Linked DNA regions of Homo sapiens: all the other regions are linked to region 3. Evidence: promoter capture Hi-C in human tissues and cell types (Jung and others, 2019). All regions are on one chromosome and are shown on one strand. Each heading gives the region's core, a stretch centred on a gene start or on the middle of the fragment in contact. The rest is flanking DNA. Distances are from core to core; before and after follow the strand shown.

Region 1 (2,700 bases), core at 26-2,525, 1.7 Mb before region 3:
CAACAGAGTGGGGTTTCCCATCTTCAAGCAAACCCAAGCCTTGGGGGCATCTCAGCCGAGTGAAGCCATGCTATTTCCGTTTGGGAGGAGGGGGATCATTTTATTTCGCTGAATCACAACTCCCCCACATCCCCACCCCAAATCACCACAATCACCACCACCACACAACACTGCAAATAAAATAGGCCGTTGCAAGGACGCCGGCGAGCACGGACCGAGCAAAACAAAGCGCCCAGCAAGGGGCTGCCAGGCTGAGAGTGGGTGCGTCAAGCGGGCCAAGCTCGCCTCCAGGGCACCGCTCCCGCCCTGAGGCCTGGCCTCAGACCGGCGTGCAGCCGCAGCCACCTCCCTCCGCAGGGGACCTGCCCCTTTCTCCGCAGCACTCCGGGGACCGCCGGGAAGGTGAAGAGATGGGGGTGGGGGCGCGCTGCCCCGGCCCAGGCAAAACGACCTGGGTGCCAGAAGGAGAGCGCGCCGGCCCCGGCCCACGTGAGCGCCGCGGCCGAGCCCGCCTAGAGGACCGCGGACCGGGACAGCTGCGCTCGCGGCCCCCGCGCCAGGCCGGGACTTACCCGGGCCGGGCGCGCCGCGGACCCCGCGGCGGCCGCTTCCTCCTCCTCCTCCTCCTCCTCACTTAACAAAATGGCGGCGGCAGGAAGTGCCGGGCGCCTCGGCCCGCCCCCCGCCCGCCCCCGACCGCCGGCCCCGCCGCGGCGCCCGCGCCCCCCACCCGCGCCCCGCCGGCCAGCCCAAGCCCGGGTCCGACGGCACCAAAGGCAGGACAGCCGCGAGCGACCCCGCCGCCCCGACACCAACGGCGCAGGCCGCCCCGGCCCGGAACGAACGGCGCGGGAGGCCCGCAGGCCCGAGCCCGCGTAGCCCCGGCCTCCCCGCCCCCGCGCCGCGCGGATGGCGTAGGTGGCGGCGCCCCGGCCCCATTACGCAATGCAGGTTACGCGGACCGCGCCGCGAGCCTCCGCCAGCCGCCCAGTGTCGTCCGCCGCCCCAAAGGGCACCAGTCCTCACCTGAGACGCTAGGCCGCACGCCGCCCCCGCCGGCCGTCCGCCCGCTGCCGCCGCCCCCTCCCCGAGCTGCCTGCGCGGCGCCGGGGCCCGCCCGCCGCTCTGCCGAGCTCACAGGCCGCGCTCGCCCGCGGGCACCGCCGGCAGCCGCCGCAGCCGCTGCCGCCGCCACTGCTTCGGCTCCTCGGCTGCGGGAGACCAGAACAAACAGCCCAGCCGCCGCCGCCGCCGCCGCCGCCGCCGCCAGCGCACTGACGTCACCGCGCACGCTGCGCGCGCGGCCCCGCGCCGCCGCCGCCCGGTGTGCGCGCCCCGCCCCCGCGCCCAGCGCGAACGAGCTCTGGAGAGACAGTGGCTGCGAGGTGAGTGGGGGATACCGCGGACTGAGGGAGGAGACCCCGCAGAGCGAAGGAGCGGGCTGGGGGAAACGGGCGGACTGCAGGCTGGGCCTGCGGGAAAAGATCTGAAGGCTGAGAGAGACATCCAAAATACTAAGAAAGGTCTGAAGACAGACCCTCACAGGGAGGGAGGATGGTGAGGAGGGACCCCACAGACTGATGGAGGAGGCGGAGGAGAGAGCCCTAAGGGGGGACCCCAGGTAGGGAGGCTGAGGCGAGAGAGCTGCGATGGGGGCGCCGGGGCTGGGGTGAAGTGGAGGAAAGGAGGTGAGAGGAGGCTGCGAGCAAGGCCGAGGCGGATCCTCCTTGGCTGCCCCTGGGCAGGGAGGTAGCACCTTTCTCCTCTTATGCCCCCCTGTTGATCTTCTTCCAACCCACCTTTTTAAAAAAAGGGACATGGTCTTGCTCTGTCCCCCAGGCTGGAGTGCAGTAGTGCAGTCATAGCTCACTGCAGCCTCAACCTGCTGGCCTCAAGCGATCCTCCTGCTTCAGCCTCCCAAGTAGCTGGGACTACAGGTGTGCACCACCACACCCAGCTAACTATTTTTTGTAGAGATGGGATCTCACGATGTTGGCCAGGCTGGTCTCTGTCTCCTGGACTCAAGCGATCCTCCTGCCTCGACCTCCCAAAGTGCTAGTATTACAGGCGTGAGCCACCGCGCCCAGCTCCTTCCCATCCTTAAGACTCAACCCCAAGTCAGACCAGGCTCGGTGGCTCACACCTGTAATCTCAGCACTTTGGGAGGCAGAGGCAGGAGGTTGGCTTGAGGCCAGGGGTTGGAGACCATCCTAGCCAACAGAGTGAAACCTCGCCTCTACTAAAAATACAAAAATTAGCCCCGTGTGGGCCGGGCGCAGTGGCTCACGCCTGTAATCCCAGCACTTTGGGAGGCGGGCAGATCACGAGGTAAGGAGATCGAGACCATCCTGGCTAAGACGGTGAAACCCCGTCTCTACTAAAAATACAAAAAATTAGCCGGGTGTGGTGGTGGGCGCCTGTAGTCCCAGCTACTCGAGAGACTGAGGCAGGAGAATGGCGTGAACCCGGGAGGCGGAGCTTGCTGTGAGCGGAGATCGCGCCCCTGCACTCCAGCCTGTGCGACAGAGCGAGACTCCGTCTCAAAAAAAAAAAAAAAAAATTAGCCGGGTGTGGTGGCGCATGCCTGTAATCCCATGCCTGTAATGCCAGCTACTCAGGAGGCTAAGGCAGAAGAATCACTTGAACCCGGGAGGCGTAGGTTGCAGTGAGCCGAGATTGTGCCACTGCACTCTAGCCTGG
Region 2 (2,700 bases), core at 21-2,520, 1.1 Mb after region 3:
AGCCCTGCCTTTAAAAGCTTCCTCCAGACATCTGGGCCCTGAGCTATGTTTTTTATTTTTATGTTTTTGAGACAAGGTCTCGCTCTGTAACCCAGGTTGGAGTACAGTGGCGCAATCACGGCACATTGCAGCCTCGACCTCCTGGGCGCCCTGGGCTATGTTAATAAAATAAATAAGCGGCGGGGCGCGGTGGCTCACGCCTGTAATCCCAGCACTTTGGAAGGCCAAGGCGGGCGGATCTCCTGAGGTCGGGAGTTCCAAACCACCCTGACCAACATGGAGAAACCCCGTCTCTACTAAAAATACAAAATTAGCCGGGCGTGGTGGCGCATGCCTGTAATCCCAGCTGCTCGGGAGGCTGAGGCAGGAGAATCGCTTGAACTCGGGAGGTGGAGGTTGCGGCGAGCCGAGATAGCGCCATTGCACTCCAGCCTGGGCAACAAGAGCGAAACTCCGTCTCAAAAAATAATAACAAAATAAGCAATCGTCGCGTCCTTTCTATCCTGGTCTTAGCTTGCGCTCTGCCATAAAACTCCCTCTAGCCGAACCCGGCCCAGCCCTAGAGCAATCCGTTACTTCCGGGGCGCTCAGCCGGCATGCAAACACTCTTGGCTACAGCCCCATCTCCGAGTGCGTTCGGCTATTTCCGGAAACCGTCGGCATCTAGGCTCAAGTCCGCTAAATTCTAGTGCCCGTAGGGGTCGAGATCGTTGGCTGTTTCCGGACGCTCTGGGTTGCCATGGAAACTCCTTCAACCCTGGCTTTCTCCGACTTCTGCTTTTTGCGGCAGGCCCTTTCCCCACTCTACTGCCCCCTGTTTGCTGAGCTTGAGAACGCCTCATTTGTCCCCTGGAACCATCTATGCTTCAGTAATTCCCATAAGCTGGCGGTCGCCTCTGGGTCTAAACTCCCAAGGCCTCCATTGGGCACTGAGCACATTCGGTTATTTCCAGAAACGCTCCGCGGTCTTGGGGATCAGCCTCAGTTGTGCCAGTGCGGCCGTAGAGAGTGTTCGGCCATTTCCGAAAGCGCTCGGGCGTCTCTAAGCCCAGCCGAGCCCAGTCTCGGATCCCTCGCCGACCCGATTGCACTCGGCTACCTCTGGAAACGCTCGGCTGTCTCGGGGGCACCCTCTAGTCCACCAGTCCCGCGGGATTACGTTCGGCTACTTCCGGAAACACTCGGGTGCCCCCTTACCTCAGGCTCCGCCTCGGCCTCGGTTCATCCGCCCGGCTCGAATGCGCTCGGGCATTTCCGCCGGGGGCGGGCCAGGCCGCTCGGAACCGTGGCGGCGGCGGAGGCGGGGATCCCGCGGCTGCGGCGACGGTGGCCGCGGTGGAGCCACGGGGCGGGCTTGGCTTGGTGTGACGGCGGCTGCGGCGGCGGTGGCGGCCGCGACCAGGTGAGTCCTGACTGGCCCTCGTGGCGGGGGCGGCTGGGAGTGTGCTTAAATGCGGGGCGCCCGGGGGCAGTGCCGGGCCCCGGTGGAAGCCAGAACGCAAGCGCCAGGCTGCGTCGGGCCCCGCGGGAACTGGGGGGGCCGCAGGCAAGGGGGGGCCTCGGGCTCGGCTCCGCAGCGGTGCAGCCTCCTTGGGACGGTCGGGGCAGAATGGGGAGAGACTCCCCGCGTCCAAGATACCGGACTGGAGCCGAGGCCCCAAATGAAGGGAGGCCCTGCCTGGAATGGGGCTTCGAATAGTACCGAGGGGCGCCCAGGCATTGTGCGGGGCAGAATGGGGTGCGGGAGGGCCGGGGGTCGAACCCACTTCCGGTCCCCTAGCCGGGTGGCCGGGTCCACGCAGACCCAAGTGCGCGTCTGTGTGAGCGCTCAGGCCCTGCCTTCACCCGCGGAGCCCCCAGCCCTGCCTGCCCCGCCCCTCCCGCCTCCCGGATTCGGGGAGCGCTGCTCCCGGGGCGCGCACACCGGGGCGTGGGGGCGGGCTGGCAGGCAGATCCAGGCGGTTTTCTGGGCATCCCCTCTCGGGGCCTCAGTTTCCCCACCTGTAGAATGAGGGTAACAGAGGCCTAGGAATGGGTAAATTGGGCACCCGAGAATGTGGCGCCCCTCCGCCCTGCTCGGACACCTCTTGGGGTTCCCCGTGACTGAAGGATGCTCAGAGCCTCCACCTGACACTCGGGCCTCTTGGTGGATAGCACCTATCCTTATAGCCACCCTGAATCCTTGACAAGCAACTTAACCCACTGCCAAGGCTTTGCATGTGCCGTTCCGTCTGCCTGTCGCGCCTTCCTATCCGCTGTGATGATCCATTCTCTAGAACAGCACGTCCATCCCCCGACCCTAGCCCTGTCCATCACAGGGCGTCTGAACCCGCAGGGCTAGGCTGGGAATGTGTGCCTATCTCCGCCTCCCCAGGCTGGGACTCCTGGGGAATAATCAATGCCCTGCTGCCGGCAGCCTCCCCTCCTCCTCAGCTGCAGTACCCCCACCTTCTCCTGGCTCCCTGTCCCTGCCTGGGGCTAAGGTTCCTTCTAAGCACCTCCCCATCTGCATTTTGTGCCTACTCTGGGCCCCAGGCTGGAGCTACCTGCCAGCCCACTCACTCCTCCTCTGCAGAGACTGGAGGTCCATTTGCTTGGACTCACCTCGAGGCCTTTGCTTGTGTAGAGGCCTCTTCCTGGACTTTGTTCCCTACCTCTTAGTTCAGCTGGCCTGACCCCTCTATGGAGCTCCCAAAGCAC
Region 3 (2,700 bases), core at 82-2,581:
GTCTCTCATTGGAGCCAAGGTCTGTCATGTGGGGCCGCGTCATTCCTTGCAGTGGAAGCTGACCTGCACATCGAAAGCTGTTTACCAGCATTCCTGGCCTGCACCCACTTAATGCCAACACCAAATGCCTCTCCCTATTTGTGACAACCAAAAATACCTCCAGACATTTCCCAGCGGCCTCAGGGAGACAAAAATCCCCCCCAGGGCTGAGAACCACTATTCTAAGGGATGCCAGCTTTGAAAGAAGCATTAGGATGAAAATTTGTAGGGTTCCGATTTCACGAAGCCTAGGAGAGGGAAGTCTGGATGCTCAGAGCGCAGTAGACTGTCTTGCTTTTAAAACTGTGACCAGCAAGGACCAACTACTCACTGCAAATAACGACACCCACCTAGTCTCACTGCTTACCAGTTTTCTGGAAACTCCTAAACAAGGGCTGCTTGAACAAGCCGCCTTCTAAACGCCCAGCTGGACTAAAAGGCTGGTCTTGTGCAGACCAGGGCAGCCCCCCTGAACCCGCAGCCCTGCAGAGCTCACCCGAACTTGCCAGGTTTAGAAATATTCTCTGTGAAGCCAACTTAGCAGTACTCCCCAGCAGTTAGTTAATTCACCTTCTCCCCGCTGTCAACCCACCAGAAGCCTGCAAGCAAACCTCTAGAAAAATGTAGAAGCAAAACAAACACTTCCTCCTCCCTCACCACGCCCACCCACGGGAAAGTGCCCCTTCGCACTCTCCTCCCACTTCTCAGCCAAGACGCTCCTCTTACCTTCATACCTTGGACAACTGGAAATCGCCACCCATGATGACAGCCCGGGTCACACGAAGGGGGCGAGGTGGGGCGGGGGGAGCTGACCTCAGCACCTTTAGCTTTTGGGAGTCCCTGTACCTCCACAGAGCCACTTCGGAAACTTTAGGGCGCCCCCTCCTCAAGACGATTCGGGAACAAGAGGCCAGGTCCAGCCCAGCGCGGAGGCTGTGTGGCCTTGGGCAGGTCGCTGCAACACTCTGAGCCAGTACCCGCGACCCCCACCCCAGAAGGCGACCGACCTCCTCTGTCGCCGGAGGATACTCACGGGGCCTGAGGCTGCGCGGCGCGCACGCCGTCCCGCGCCGACAGCAGCAGGAGCAGGAGCGGGAGCAACGGCCAGAGCAGGGCGCCGCTCATTTTTCGGCTCCTGGGGGGCGCCGCGCCTGGGGAGGGGGCCGGGCCAGGGCTGGGCCAGGGCCAGGGTCCGAGCGCGGCCGTCCTCGCGCCGCCGCCGGGGGCCCTTTGTTCGCAGCCCCCGCGCAGTGCGCCCGGCGCCATGCGCCCCGCTCCGCGCCCGGCCAAGCTGGGGCAGCCCCGGGCCAGCCCCCTCCCCGGACCCGCCTCGTCTCCGGGACCGCCCCGCTCGCCCCGCTCGCCCCGCTCCTGGGCGCACCCTCCCGGGACGCCTGCTCCGCCCATCTCCGGACCCCGACCCGCCCCGATCCCTTCCGGGGATCGTCCCCTCACTTACTCACCGGACCCACCCGGGCCCTGCCCGATTCCTTCCGAACCCGCCTCCTCACCCCCTACCCGGATTCGCCCCCGGATGCCCCCCTCCCCACCAGCCCCGCCTCGGACCCGACCCCCCACCGCCCCCACTCTCCCTCTCCTCTCCACCCAGCGTCCACTCGGAACCTGTCCCTTCCCTGGCCTCTCCCTCCCTCCCTCCCCAGCCAGCCCCTTATGGCCCCCTCCCCGGGCCCGCCCCTCACCAGGGGCCCCTGGGTCTGGACGCCGCCTGCAACCCCGATCCCACAGGCGCCGCCGTGCCCTAAGCCCTGGCCTGTATCTAGTGCCCAGTGCAGTGCGTACAGCCCAAGGAGCAGAGGACCCTTTGGGGAAACAGTCTAGCCAGGGGTCGAACCTCCCAGACTCACATCTGCCCCAGGTCCCTATCTGTGCTCTCTGCTCCCCTCTCCCCCACCCCCACTGTCCACAAATCCCTTGGGCCCGTCCCCTCTCTCGCTGGGCCTCAGAGTCCCCCTTTCCCCTTCATACAGCAGGGGTGGATGGGCACCCCCTTTCTCTCCAAGAGCAGGGTGTCCCCTCCTGCCCCTCCCCGTGTGGCCACCTCAGTGATGGTCCTGCTGTCCTAGGTCCCACTGGCAGGCGGCACATCCTATACCATGTCCAAGTCCTGGACCCCCTCCTTCCAGTGTGGAACCCCCTTCCCCCAGCTACCAACTGCCCTTCTTCTAAAATTCCAGTGCTGACCACACCCCCTCCTGCCCGGAATCCTCGGGGCTCCCTGTTTATTTTACATTTTATTTTTATGTTTTGAGACCAGAGTTTTGCTCTGTTGCCCAGGCAGGAATTTAGTGGTGCAGTCACAGCTCACTGCAGCTTCAGACTCCTGGAGAGTAGCTGGGACTACAGGTGCAAGCCCGCACCCAGCTAATTTTTATATATTTTTTTTTAGAAACGGAGTCGCACTGTGTTGCCCAGGCTGGTCTTGAGCACTGGGCTCAAATGATCCTCCCTCCTCAGCCTCCCAAAGTGCTGGGATTACAGGTGTGAGCCACCACATCCAGCCAGGGCTTCCCGTTTATTGAGACCAAATCTAAACTCTGGCTTTGATGGCAGAGACCTCAGCCTAGTTCCTCCAACACCCTGTTCTTACTCCACTGCCTGCTTCTGCCTAATCTCTGTCTTCCTCTACCTGCCTCCTTTGCC

The links. Contacts are between HindIII fragments. The study calls those that stand out against the background at their distance.
Region 1: the fragment with the promoter of BRD4 here is called in contact with the fragment with the promoter of CPAMD8 in region 3 in 1 of the 25 tissues and cell types used here (heart left ventricle).
Region 2: the fragment with the promoter of PIK3R2 here is called in contact with the fragment with the promoter of CPAMD8 in region 3 in 1 of the 25 tissues and cell types used here (heart right ventricle).

The regions. Positions count from the first base shown.
Region 1 is chr19:15,331,264-15,333,963 of GRCh38, forward strand. BRD4 (bromodomain containing 4) reads right to left here and starts at 1,276. Exons shown (of 20, transcript NM_001379291.1): 1 at 1,027-1,276. It overlaps LOC124904643 (a long non-coding RNA gene), which reads left to right and starts at 1,350. Exons shown (of 4, transcript XR_007067146.1): 1 at 1,350-1,385. RefSeq lists silencers at 276-325, 336-485, 516-615, 816-1,045, 1,276-1,375 and 1 more and an enhancer at 1,542-2,158. The HindIII fragment of the contact is 25,776 bases long and covers 1-2,700 here.
Region 2 is chr19:18,151,893-18,154,592 of GRCh38, forward strand. PIK3R2 (phosphoinositide-3-kinase regulatory subunit 2) reads left to right here and starts at 1,271. Exons shown (of 16, transcript NM_005027.4): 1 at 1,271-1,402. RefSeq lists enhancers at 22-101, 644-1,536, 842-1,121 and silencers at 1,232-1,611, 1,922-2,141. The HindIII fragment of the contact is 11,749 bases long and covers 1-2,700 here.
Region 3 is chr19:17,025,479-17,028,178 of GRCh38, forward strand. CPAMD8 (C3 and PZP like alpha-2-macroglobulin domain containing 8) reads right to left here and starts at 1,332. Exons shown (of 42, transcript NM_015692.5): 1 at 1,073-1,332. The coding sequence starts at 1,164. RefSeq lists an enhancer at 1,504-2,412. The HindIII fragment of the contact is 4,679 bases long and covers 1-2,700 here.